Regions from separate parts of the Homo sapiens genome. Here regions 1 and 3 are each linked to region 2. Evidence: promoter capture Hi-C in human tissues and cell types (Jung and others, 2019). All regions are on one chromosome and are shown on one strand. Each heading gives the region's core, a stretch centred on a gene start or on the middle of the fragment in contact. The rest is flanking DNA. Distances are from core to core; before and after follow the strand shown. Region 1 overlaps LOC107986129 (a long non-coding RNA gene). Region 2 holds the start of MGLL (monoglyceride lipase). Region 3 overlaps MGLL (monoglyceride lipase).

Region 1 (3,584 bases), core at 545-3,044, 60 kb after region 2:
TCTAATGCCACCACTGATCTGACAGGAGGTGGAACTCAGGCAGTAATGTGAATGAGGGGGAGTGGATGTAAATACAGATCTCGCTTGCCCGCCACTCACTTCCTGCTGTGTGGCGTCGTTCCTAACAGGCCATGGACTAGTACCGGTTTGTGGCACAAGGGTTGGGGACCTCTGCTTTAACATATTTATAACAATTATTTAAAGACTATTCTCTGCTAATTCCAACATCTAGTTCACCTTTGAGTCTGTCTCTTTTGATCATTTTTCCTCCTTTTGATAAACCATCACATTTTTTTCCTTCTTCACACATAGAACTGATTTTTCAGCATATGCCAGACATTGTGTGACTCCTAGAAACTCTGAATTTTGTTACCTTTCTCTAAAGCGGGCTGAGTTTTGTTCAGGGAGTCTGGTGGATCCCTTCAATTTTGCTGAGGCTGGGCTTTTCGACATGTCTATTTCAATGTTTCCCTTAGTCATCAGGCACAGCCCTTACTTCTATAGCATGGTTCTTACTCTTAATGAAATGACCTTTCTGGGGTTTTAATTAAATGCCAGAGATGCCCACCAAGGTCTATGGCTTGACTGGCTGAAATTCTTCAATGATGAGTTATCATTGAAATCTCTGATCAACTCTCTGTTCCTAGGAGCTGTTCTCTATTAGGCATCATAGTGTCTTGCCCCGGACATGTTCAGTTTAAGATTTAGCCAAGGACCTTAAGGGAGGCCTTATACAAAGTTAAGGAATTGTCTCTCATCTGGTACCCTGACACACAAATTGCCACTGTCACAGAAGCCACAAGCAATGTTTCCAGATTCCCTGCCCAGCTTCCCTTCCCTGCTGCTCTCTTTGCTTGACTAAATTATCCCCCACTGTGGTTTAGAAACCAACTTCAAGCAGAAAGCCAGGATAAATATCAAGTACCTCCCTTGGCTCAAGGCAGCTCAAGGCTTTAAGCCACTGTCCAAGGCCTGAAAACCATTGTTTCACATGTTTTGTGCATTTGTTATAGTCTTCATGATAGAATGGTAAGTCTAATGCTACTCCATCACAACCGGACTGGAAGTCTTTGAGTAAGTTACTATCTGCACAAACAAGAGGATGATTCAAAATTACCTAATGCAGGCTGGGTGCGGTGGCTCACGCCTGTAATCCCAGCACTTTGGGAGGCCGAGGCGGGTGGATCATGAGGTCAGGAGATCGAGACCATCCTGGCTAACAAGGTGAAACCCCGTCTCTACTAAAAATACAAAAAATTAGCCGGGCGCGGTGGCGGACGCCTGTAGTCCCAGCTACTGGGGAGGCTGAGGCAGGAGAATGGCGTGAACCCGGGAAGCGGAGCTTGCAGTGAGCCGAGATTGCACCACTGCAGTCCGCAGTCCGGCCTGGGCGACAGAGCGAGACTCCGTCTCAAAAAAAAAAAAAAAAAAAAAAAAAAAAAAATTACCTAATGCAATGGAACATTAAAAACTCAATTACTGCCTGTCTCCCTCTGAGCCTACCCTGTAGCTGAGTTGATCCCCACCACAGGCCTCTGTTTCCTCCTCTTTCCCATCAGCCATGGTCTTACAGCCTGTCACATTCAAGTTGACATTCTATTCATTTACCGTGTTCTTATTCTGAACCCTTCCTTAGACACAGGAGTTACAAAATTGCCATTATTGGAAGGAAAGCACAATTCAAGAAAAAAGCTCAAAGGATCTCAAAAATACAGATTATATAATAAAAAAGGACAATGGCTTTTAAATATACTAATATATTCTATTACAGACCAAATACATGAGAAATTAGAAACCCCTGAATAGCTGTTGGCTTGTATTGCATTTTAAAAAGACAGAAGATCTTGAGAATATGCCCTAATGGAGGAATAGCAATGACAACTCAAAACAGACAGCTTTTTTACATATATTAGTCTCTTGCATTTGAAATGGTAATGAATGATATCTGCCCCACACCTCTCCCCCACAATCCAGCTAAGGTTAAAAATAAAAATAAGAAGGCATGCTCCAGGTGGGCAGTCAGGAGGATCCCAGGAATATTCTGGGCACTTGCTATAGCTGCCAAGAATAGGATTCAAGGTTTATCCCAAATAATCTATGAAATGGAAAGAAACACGAAGACAATTAATATTAACAATCCATTATGGCAAAACTGGGCACTCTCCAGATGCTTTAATATATATATATATATATATATATATATACATACACACACACATACACATATATACACATATACACATATATGTACATTATATATATATATATTTTTTTTGAGACAGAGTCTCACTCTGTTGTCCAGGCTGGAGTGCAGTGGTGGAGGTTCACTGCAACCTCCACCTCCCGGGTTCAAGCGATTCTCCTGCCTCAGTCCCCTGAGTAGCTGGGATCACAGGCGCATGCCACCACACCTGGCTAATTTTTGTATTTTTAGTAGAGGTGGGGTTTCACCATGTTGACCTGGCTGGTCTCAAACTCCTGACCTCAAATGATCCACCCACGTCAGCCTTCCAAAATGCTGAGATTTCAGGCGTGAGCCACTGTGCCCAGCCACTTTAAAATATTTTTGACTACCTGTATATAACCCAAGTCTTTAAGAGTTCATCTTAACAGACTTCCATTTGTAGAACATGCTTAGATTCTACCCTGAGTCCCTTTATTGATTCGAGGTCTTATCAAGTCACAATGTTTACTAGTTTTGAAAATGTGTTTAACATGGAAAACACTGCTGCGTCTCGCCACAGCATTTTATCTTCACATCTGGCTTGGGGACCATCAGCTTACCAAGTCCACTCACGCCCGCTAATGTTTCCAAAAGCTTTATTTTGGAAATTTGGTGCACTTTGGCTTTGAAACATGTGTATAGATGATTTTTAACATAAGAAGCCCTGCATTCATTGTTATTTTTAAATAAATGTATGCAACTGTTAAATTTTGTGTTTCTTGGGTTTTGTTTTCCACAGCTGACTGGGCATATTCCCAGTGAGAAAATAAGGTCAGCAAAACAGCTGCAATAGTGGAAAAGGGACCAGTGGCCATGAGAGAGAACCAATGAAAGAGCATCTGCTAATGTATTAATGTGATGTCATGGAAGAACTAACCATCTTAAAGATTATAAAATGCAAGGGTATGAGGCTTCCAGAAGATACCTCTTAAAGGCCCAGCAAATTATAAATATGTTGACAACACTTCATAGATAGATTAACACATATAAAATGTATCATATGAAAGATAACATTTATCCTAAATTAGGCGTGGTTCTAAGTCTAACGAATATTCAGATGGCAGAGCTAGAAGAAACTGAACATTTTTCTTCCTGGAAAGCAGTAAACTTTGTTCTAATCTCAGTCATCCTTCTACCTAGCTGTGCAACGCTATTTAGACAACCAGGGCCTCGGTTTCTTTATTTGAAACCAAATTCCTCAGAATTTTATTATTTTATCCTCCTTCCCCTCCCCAATAGAATGTAATTCTCTGAAAACTTAATGTATCTGCTTCAGATACTTCTGTTCTTTTAGCTAAGTGCCAAGGATTGCAATGGAAGAATGGTAAGAAATATTTTTTCCATGGTAAGGGTGATGTTT
Region 2 (3,400 bases), core at 511-3,010:
ACTAGAGAGAAACCATAGCCAGTCTGTGTAGCTGCCCTGAAGCTATGACTCTATGCCGGGTTTTAAAAGTCCATATCTCTGTGTTTTTAACGTGCAGCTCCCTGGATCATAGATACCTTGATGAAGACAGAGAAGAAATTTTACACCTGTGTGAGGGTTGGGTGATTACTGGAGCACAAAGAGAGACATAATCCAACCACACAATGATCCCTAGGAGACAAGAGGCCTACAAAACAGGTAAAATGTCCCTGGAACAGGAAATGTTCTTGTCACCAGGCCAATTGGTTACCACAAATAAATTCTTTTTCCAAATAACACAAACAAGCAGGGTTTTCCTGCTTCATCCAAGAGGAGGGAGCAGCAGCAGGAGACCAGCTGTCTTGTGTATAGTCCCAATGTTTGCTTCTAATAGCAAGACAAATCCTTGATGGAAAATGTACAAAGTAATTGAGCTGGCAAGGAATCAGAAGGAAATACCCAGGCCCCTTTCTTCCTGGTGACACATGTATGCCATCTTCAGAAGCTCAGAAACAAGCAGGAAAAGTGAGCAAAGGTGAAGATATATGTATTACTTCGGGTTTCTCATCCATCTAGGGGATTTTCCTTAATTGTCGGGTTTGATTTTAAATGAATGCCTGTACAACCGGAAATCAACTCCAGTACAAAAAATAAAGTCATGTGGAATTTTTGAAAATTGCCATACGGTAGGATCCATATCTGAGTTGTTATAATGAAAAAAGAATTCCTGCTTCTTAAATTTAAAAATTATAAAGTATACATTTTAGCTTTGTTAACATTGCTCAGCCTAACATTAAAACGGCAGGGGAAGTAGGTCATAGAGAAAGCGGCCCCGCCCCAGATGGCACATGATAACGACCAGAGGAGAAGCAGGGGCCATGCTCCCCTGTCACCTGGGGTGACTTTCTGGGGAAGACTTACTTGGGTGTGCCTGTGGGTTTCCAGTACCTGCAGAAGAGGTACTGTCCGTCTGCATTGACCAGGTGAGGGAGGTCCTGGTAGGGAATGCTCTGCGGGGTCCGCCTGGGGGAACTTTCCTCTGGCATGCTGGAAGGGTCTTCAGGTCCTAGAAGGAAAAGTGACATATTCCAAAGTCAGAAATATCTCAAGAACATGTATGGATAGGAGAGAAAAGTCTAGTTCAGAGTCAGTAACATTTTTTTAAAAGCAGTTTAAAAAACCCCTCTGTTTCAAAGGTTTAAAACATACATACATTTCTTGCAAACCTCTCCAAGACTGAAAAATCCCATTTGTTCTTAAGAAAATGCTCACTTTATTTTTTAAGTGCCTCATTACAGTTTTTCCCCCTTCCCATCTGTGTTTATTTTAAATCATTTCAGGAAACTTCATCTTAAAGACTATTTTAGCTGTAATCAAGTGGAAATTATAGTCAGCTCTATGGGTACAAAGACCCAGCTGCAAGAAGACCCATCTATCTTAAAATCTCCAAGGAACAGTTTCAAGTGGGCACAATAATGAGGTGGATGATACTCAGATTATTCCTCCCATCTGAAATTCCAAGGATACATGACAAACCTGTTTCCATTATGTGCTGGCGTTTGCATTCCACAACCACGACAGCCTGGAGAATCAGAACCAGGCAAATCGGGCTGTTCCCTCATCTGGGCGGCCCCAAGGCAGCAGGAAGGCAGCTCCGAGCCCTCTTCCCGCACCCAGACCCTGCCTTTCGGGCTGGGGCGCTCAGCCGGGAGCCTGCTTCCAGCTCCCACCGGCAGGCTCTCCGGGGCTCCCCTCCCTCCCCAGGGCGGGGAGCGGCGCTGCGATTCTCCACTACTAGTTCATGTCATCACTTTTCCTAAACAAATCGCTAGAGGGGCTCGGAGAAGGGAGGGGCCCGGGAAACTGGGAAACTAGCTCCGCGCACACCGAGGCACCTCGCAGACGCACAAATGCGGGTGCCCAAGGCAAAGTCGCCCCCAAGGCTTCTCACAAACTTTGCTTCCTGTGCGTCTCCGACAGCACAGGACACGTAGCCCCGAAGCTGTCATCGGAAATGCCGCTGGGAAAACCGGGTGGGCTTCGCCGGGTGTCTGCACCGGGGAAGGTGGGGACTAGAAAGATGGAGTTGATGGGGACAAGTTGGTTTGGGGGCTGGTGCGAAGGAGCAGGGAGGGCGCGCGCGCGCGCACACGCGCGCACACTCGGACACGCGCGCACACACACCGTGCACACACACACACGCACACATGGGTAGCGGGAGCCCACGCCGGGCGTGTCCGGGACCCCAGTGCTGCTCCCCACCCCTGACGGCGGCACTGGCGGGCTGGGGCAGGGGCCGGGAGGCAGTTACCGGGGCCACGAGCGCCGCTGTCGCGTTCCCCGAGCGCAGCGGATCCTCGTTTGCGGCGGGCCAGGGCCGGGACGAGCTGCGCGCGACCGGCTTCGCGGCGACAGGGTGCGGCGTCTGCGCCGCCACTTTATCCCTGGGCCGGCTCGGCGGCGGGGGCGGCCCGAGGTGGGTGGGGACGCGCGGGACCCGGCGGGCGGCGGGCGGCGCGGGGAGGCGGCGCCCGGGGCCCACGTGTGCCCGGCCCGCGGGGAGGAGCGGGGGCGCCGCCCGCCGACCCAGCCACGCACTCCTCTCCTCCGCGCCTCGTGGACAGCCGCGCCCCGGGGTGGCCGCCCGAGGACTGTCAGGGAGGCCTGAACTGAGCTGGGTTCATGGGAGCCTCAGCGCGGGAGGACACACCACACCCACGGGCACACGCGCGCACACAGACCCACAGGCACCACACGTACACAGACAACTCGCGCAGGGCCGCACACTCACCACACGTGTACACATGTGCACTCCCAAAGTCACTACACTGCACGCAGGGACATACAGACACACATCCCAGAGATACCACATGCATACAGACACACACAGACCACACATGCATGCACACACACAAGCCGAGACATAGGCACAGACAACCCACAGAGACACAGAGGTGCACAGACATATGCAGACTATACACCTGGCCCCCACATAGACACAGACACACTCACATCATACACACACAGTCGCACACAGACACACTCACACTTCATTGCAGTCAGACACATACAATGCTGGAGGGGCAATTAACCGGTCGTGGTGGCATGCGCCTGTAGTCCCAGCTACTCAGGAGAATCGCTTGAACCCGGGAGGCAGAGGTTGCAGTGAGCCGATACCACACCATTGCACTTCAGCCTGGGTGACAGAGTGAGACTCCATCTCGGGGAAAAAAAAATGCTGGAGGGGGTCCACTTGACTCTAGGGTAGTGTAAAAGCAGATGGTGCATGGCTACAAATGCCTTGTCCCTTCCTGGCAATCCCCAGCAACTCTCCCGTTCCCAGCGGCTGTGACCCCCAGATAAAACCTCTGGTGCATCTACA
Region 3 (3,555 bases), core at 797-3,296, 41 kb before region 2:
CAGGTGTGAGCCATTGCACCTTGCCTGCTTTATTTAAATTTAAAAGCTATGTTGGACTGGGTGCAGTGGCTCACGCCTGTAACCCCAATACTTTGGGAGGCCGAGGAGAGTGGATCACCTGAGGTCAGGAGTTCGAGACCAGCCTGGCCAATATGGTGAAACCCCTGTCTCTACCAAAAATACAAAAATTAGCCGGGCATAGTGGCAGGCGCCTGTAGTCCCAGCTACTCAGGAGGCTAAGACAGGATAATCGCTTGAACCCGGGAGGCAGAGGTTGCAGTGAGTTGAGATCACGCCACTGCACTCCAGCCTGGGCGACAGAGCAAGACTCCATTTCAAAAAAATAAAAAGTAAAAAAATAAAATAAAAGCTATGTTGGAAAGAATGCAGTCTGCATATATCTCTGTAGGCATTTGTGCCTGGAAACATTGGTGTACAGTAATAAAAAAGGCCAGGCTTTAGAACCAGCCTTTTTTTTTTTCTTAGAAAAGTCTAGACAGTTGTGGCTGTAATGCAGCGGCGCAGGACCTTACATAACCTCAGCAATGCATCAGGAGCCACACTGTGGGCTCCAGGCCTTATTAAATAAGAGGATTTGCTGTTAAAATGCTGAACAGCGAAATACTATAATGCATTGAGCAACGAGATCCAAGCTAGTAAAATCAGTTAGCGTCAGATTTAGCATCCATTCACTCCTTTCCCTCCCCAACCTTCTAAAGAAGGTTTGACCTGGGTTCAAATCCTTCCTTCTTCACTTACTAGCACATTTCTCAGCAAGAAGGAAATACAGCCAAGATCACTAGCCACCAGTACCTGCATCGCCAGCCTGCACAAGATCCCCAAAATGGCAGCCCACTTACTTGGCTTCCTTCTACTAAGCAAGCCACAGCAAAAGTCACACACGCACAGTCAACTGGGTTCATTTCCTGAATTAAACACTTCCCTTAGGCACTTGCCAGAGAGATTTCCATGAGTCATTCAAAGAGCTTGAAACAGGTGAACACCAACAGCCATTTTCGCACTATATTTAGAATGTCACAGAGAGCTCTGCCTCAACTCTAGATGTTATTCTGGAAACATCAAAAGGTGGGCTGTTTCTTTTCTCCCTTTATTCTAAAAAAGGAGGCTTTTAAAATTGTTTCTCAAAGTGCCACAGCCAGACAAAATAAACAAGGAACAACATTTACTTAATCCCACAGATTTGGCCAAGTTTTATCCGATAAGAAGGTGGTTGGTGCTAAGATACAAAATAGATTCTTGGGACTCTAGCTGCATAGTACAAATATCCTTTTCCTTCACAATGTCTCTAGAACATAACGATGATGAGTGTAACAAATTTTAAAGGATGCAAATGCAATAGGAAAAAAAAATTCCTATCTGAGGCTTTTACATGTAAGAAGTGCCAAAGTTAATAATGACACAGTCCCCATACTAAAAGCCTCGGAGATGATCCTCAAATATTATTTCTCAAACAGTCTCACAAATATTACTGGGACAGTTCGCAAAGCACTAAAGAACGTCACAACTATGATAAGAAAGAATTAGTCAATACTGTCAGTTATGAGGACGCTTGTGTATATCCAGCTGAATAAGAGCCCCTGGCAAATCACATTTGCAGCTCTTTACCTACAGAATGTCCCAGCAAGCTTTTCACCTCCTGTGCAGCTTCTCCGTACAGATAAGGCTTTCCCGCATTTACAAGGACTTCCAGGCCTCTGTCATTGCTCCCCTGTCCCTCTTTTCAGAGACATCACTTAATTATTATCCATTTTCAAATCAGATAAAATGGAAGCAACATTTCTGGATCTGGGCCACAATGATAGAATTTTACATTGAAGCTGTGGGGAAATCACCGTGTTCAGTCACAGAGAAGTCTTAATTTTAAAAAGTGTTAGGCAAAGAACTAAATTGGGAGACTTCCTAGCCATAGAGAATGTTGCAAACATGATTACAAAACTACATACCGACTCAGACAATGAACATTGGATTTTGATGGTTGTGGATTTTGCTACAGAACAAAGAATCAAAGACCTGGCCTGGGGTTGTGTGTGTGTGATTGTGTATGGATGGTATGTTTATGTATGCATGTATATGTCTATATGTATGTGTGAATGTGTGTATATGTGTGTAAATGTGTAGGTGCACATGTGTATGTATGTGTGTATGTGTGTTTTACGTGTATGTGTATAGGTACAGGTGTGTATGTGTGTGCATGTGTATGTATATGTGTATGTGTGCAAATGTGTGTATGACTATATGCATGGGTAGCTGTGTGTCCTTGTATTTGTGTGTGTGTTGGGTTTTCTTGTGAACAATATGGCCTGTTGAGGCTTCTACTATTCTCCTGGTCTGAAATGCTTGGTAAACCTCGTGTGGTTAAACCAGGGTTTACACTGTACTTGAACTGACTACACAATGCCCATTTGAGGGCACTTGGAGAAAAACCAGGGCCCATTTTGAGAGAAAGCACTTTATAAATGCAGGAAAGAATTCCTTAGCCTCAGGCAAGTTCTGAGATGAACATATCCGACTTTGTTTTTCCAGTTGAGGTTTCTAATCAGCCTGCATTCAGTCTCAGACTACAGAATCTGCTCGTCAGACATTTTTTTTGTTTGTTTGCATAACTACATTTTTTTACTTTGAAACATCCGTGGGGAATAGAAGAATTGAGAAGGATGCTGGCAGTGAGATGGACTAGAGAGGGAGATCTCCAAATTGTCAGGGCCCAGCCAGCTCTGACGGCACCCTGGGACACTCACCATGGTCGTGGGCGAACACCAGCAGGTCCAGCCCCATCAGCATCCGAGCCAGCTCTTCATAGCGGCCACTGTGCTCTCCGGCTCCATGGGACACAAAGATGAGGGCCCTGCAGAGACAAGAAGGGAGCCTGGTTAGGAAAGCCCACACGGGGCTGGGCGCGGTGGCTCATGCCTACAATTCCAGCACTTTGGGAGGCCGGGGCGGGCGGATTGCCTGAGCTCAGGAGTTTGAGACCAGCCTGACCAACATAGTGAAACCCCACCTCTACTGAAATACAAAAAAATTAGCCGGGAGTGGTGGCATGCGCCTGTCATCCCAGCTACTCGGCAGGCTGAGGCAGGAGAATTGCTTGAACCCAGGAGGCAGAGATGACAGTGAGCTGAGATGGCGCCACTGTACTCCAGCCTGGGTGACAGAGCGAGACTCTGTCTCCAAAAAAATAGAAAAGAAAAGAAACGCCCAGATGGCTGCCACTGTGCTGCAGCAGTACCAGAGCTTACAAAACCTCAGCAACACCAGGAGCCACACCATGGGCTCCAGGCATTGTCAAATAAGAGGAGTTTGCTGTTAAAATGCGGGGCTTCAGAGTCACGCAGAATGGAGCCCAAATCCCTGCTCTTCCTGTGAGCTCTCAGGCAGAGCTCCAGTCCCATGAAGGTTCATTTCTTCGCCTGTAACATGGTAAGAAGAGCATCGCCCTGTGGGTGCTTGTGAGGCTCATGGGAGCTAATCGATGCCAATGGCCCAGGCAGAGTGCTGGCGCGGGGCAGGCAGGTCCTCCACCAGGGCCTGCTT

The links. Contacts are between HindIII fragments. The study calls those that stand out against the background at their distance.
Region 1: a fragment that was not itself captured here is called in contact with the fragment with the promoter of MGLL in region 2 in 1 of the 25 tissues and cell types used here (heart right ventricle).
Region 3: a fragment that was not itself captured here is called in contact with the fragment with the promoter of MGLL in region 2 in 2 of the 25 tissues and cell types used here (dorsolateral prefrontal cortex and spleen).

The regions. Positions count from the first base shown.
Region 1 is chr3:127,881,211-127,884,794 of GRCh38, forward strand. The region is part of intron 3 of LOC107986129 (a long non-coding RNA gene); the gene reads right to left. Among named protein-coding and RNA genes, the nearest start is that of KBTBD12, 32 kb to the right of the region's middle. The HindIII fragment of the contact is 5,061 bases long and covers 1-3,584 here.
Region 2 is chr3:127,820,755-127,824,154 of GRCh38, forward strand. It overlaps MGLL (monoglyceride lipase), which reads right to left and starts at 1,761. Exons shown (of 8, transcript NM_007283.7): 1 at 1,555-1,761; 2 at 940-1,084. The coding sequence starts at 1,564. RefSeq lists a silencer at 2,203-2,722. The HindIII fragment of the contact is 31,525 bases long and covers 1-3,400 here.
Region 3 is chr3:127,779,030-127,782,584 of GRCh38, forward strand. MGLL (monoglyceride lipase) reads right to left here. Exons shown (of 8, transcript NM_007283.7): 3 at 2,760-2,866. Among named protein-coding and RNA genes, the nearest start is that of MGLL, 42 kb to the right of the region's middle. The HindIII fragment of the contact is 3,961 bases long and covers 67-3,555 here.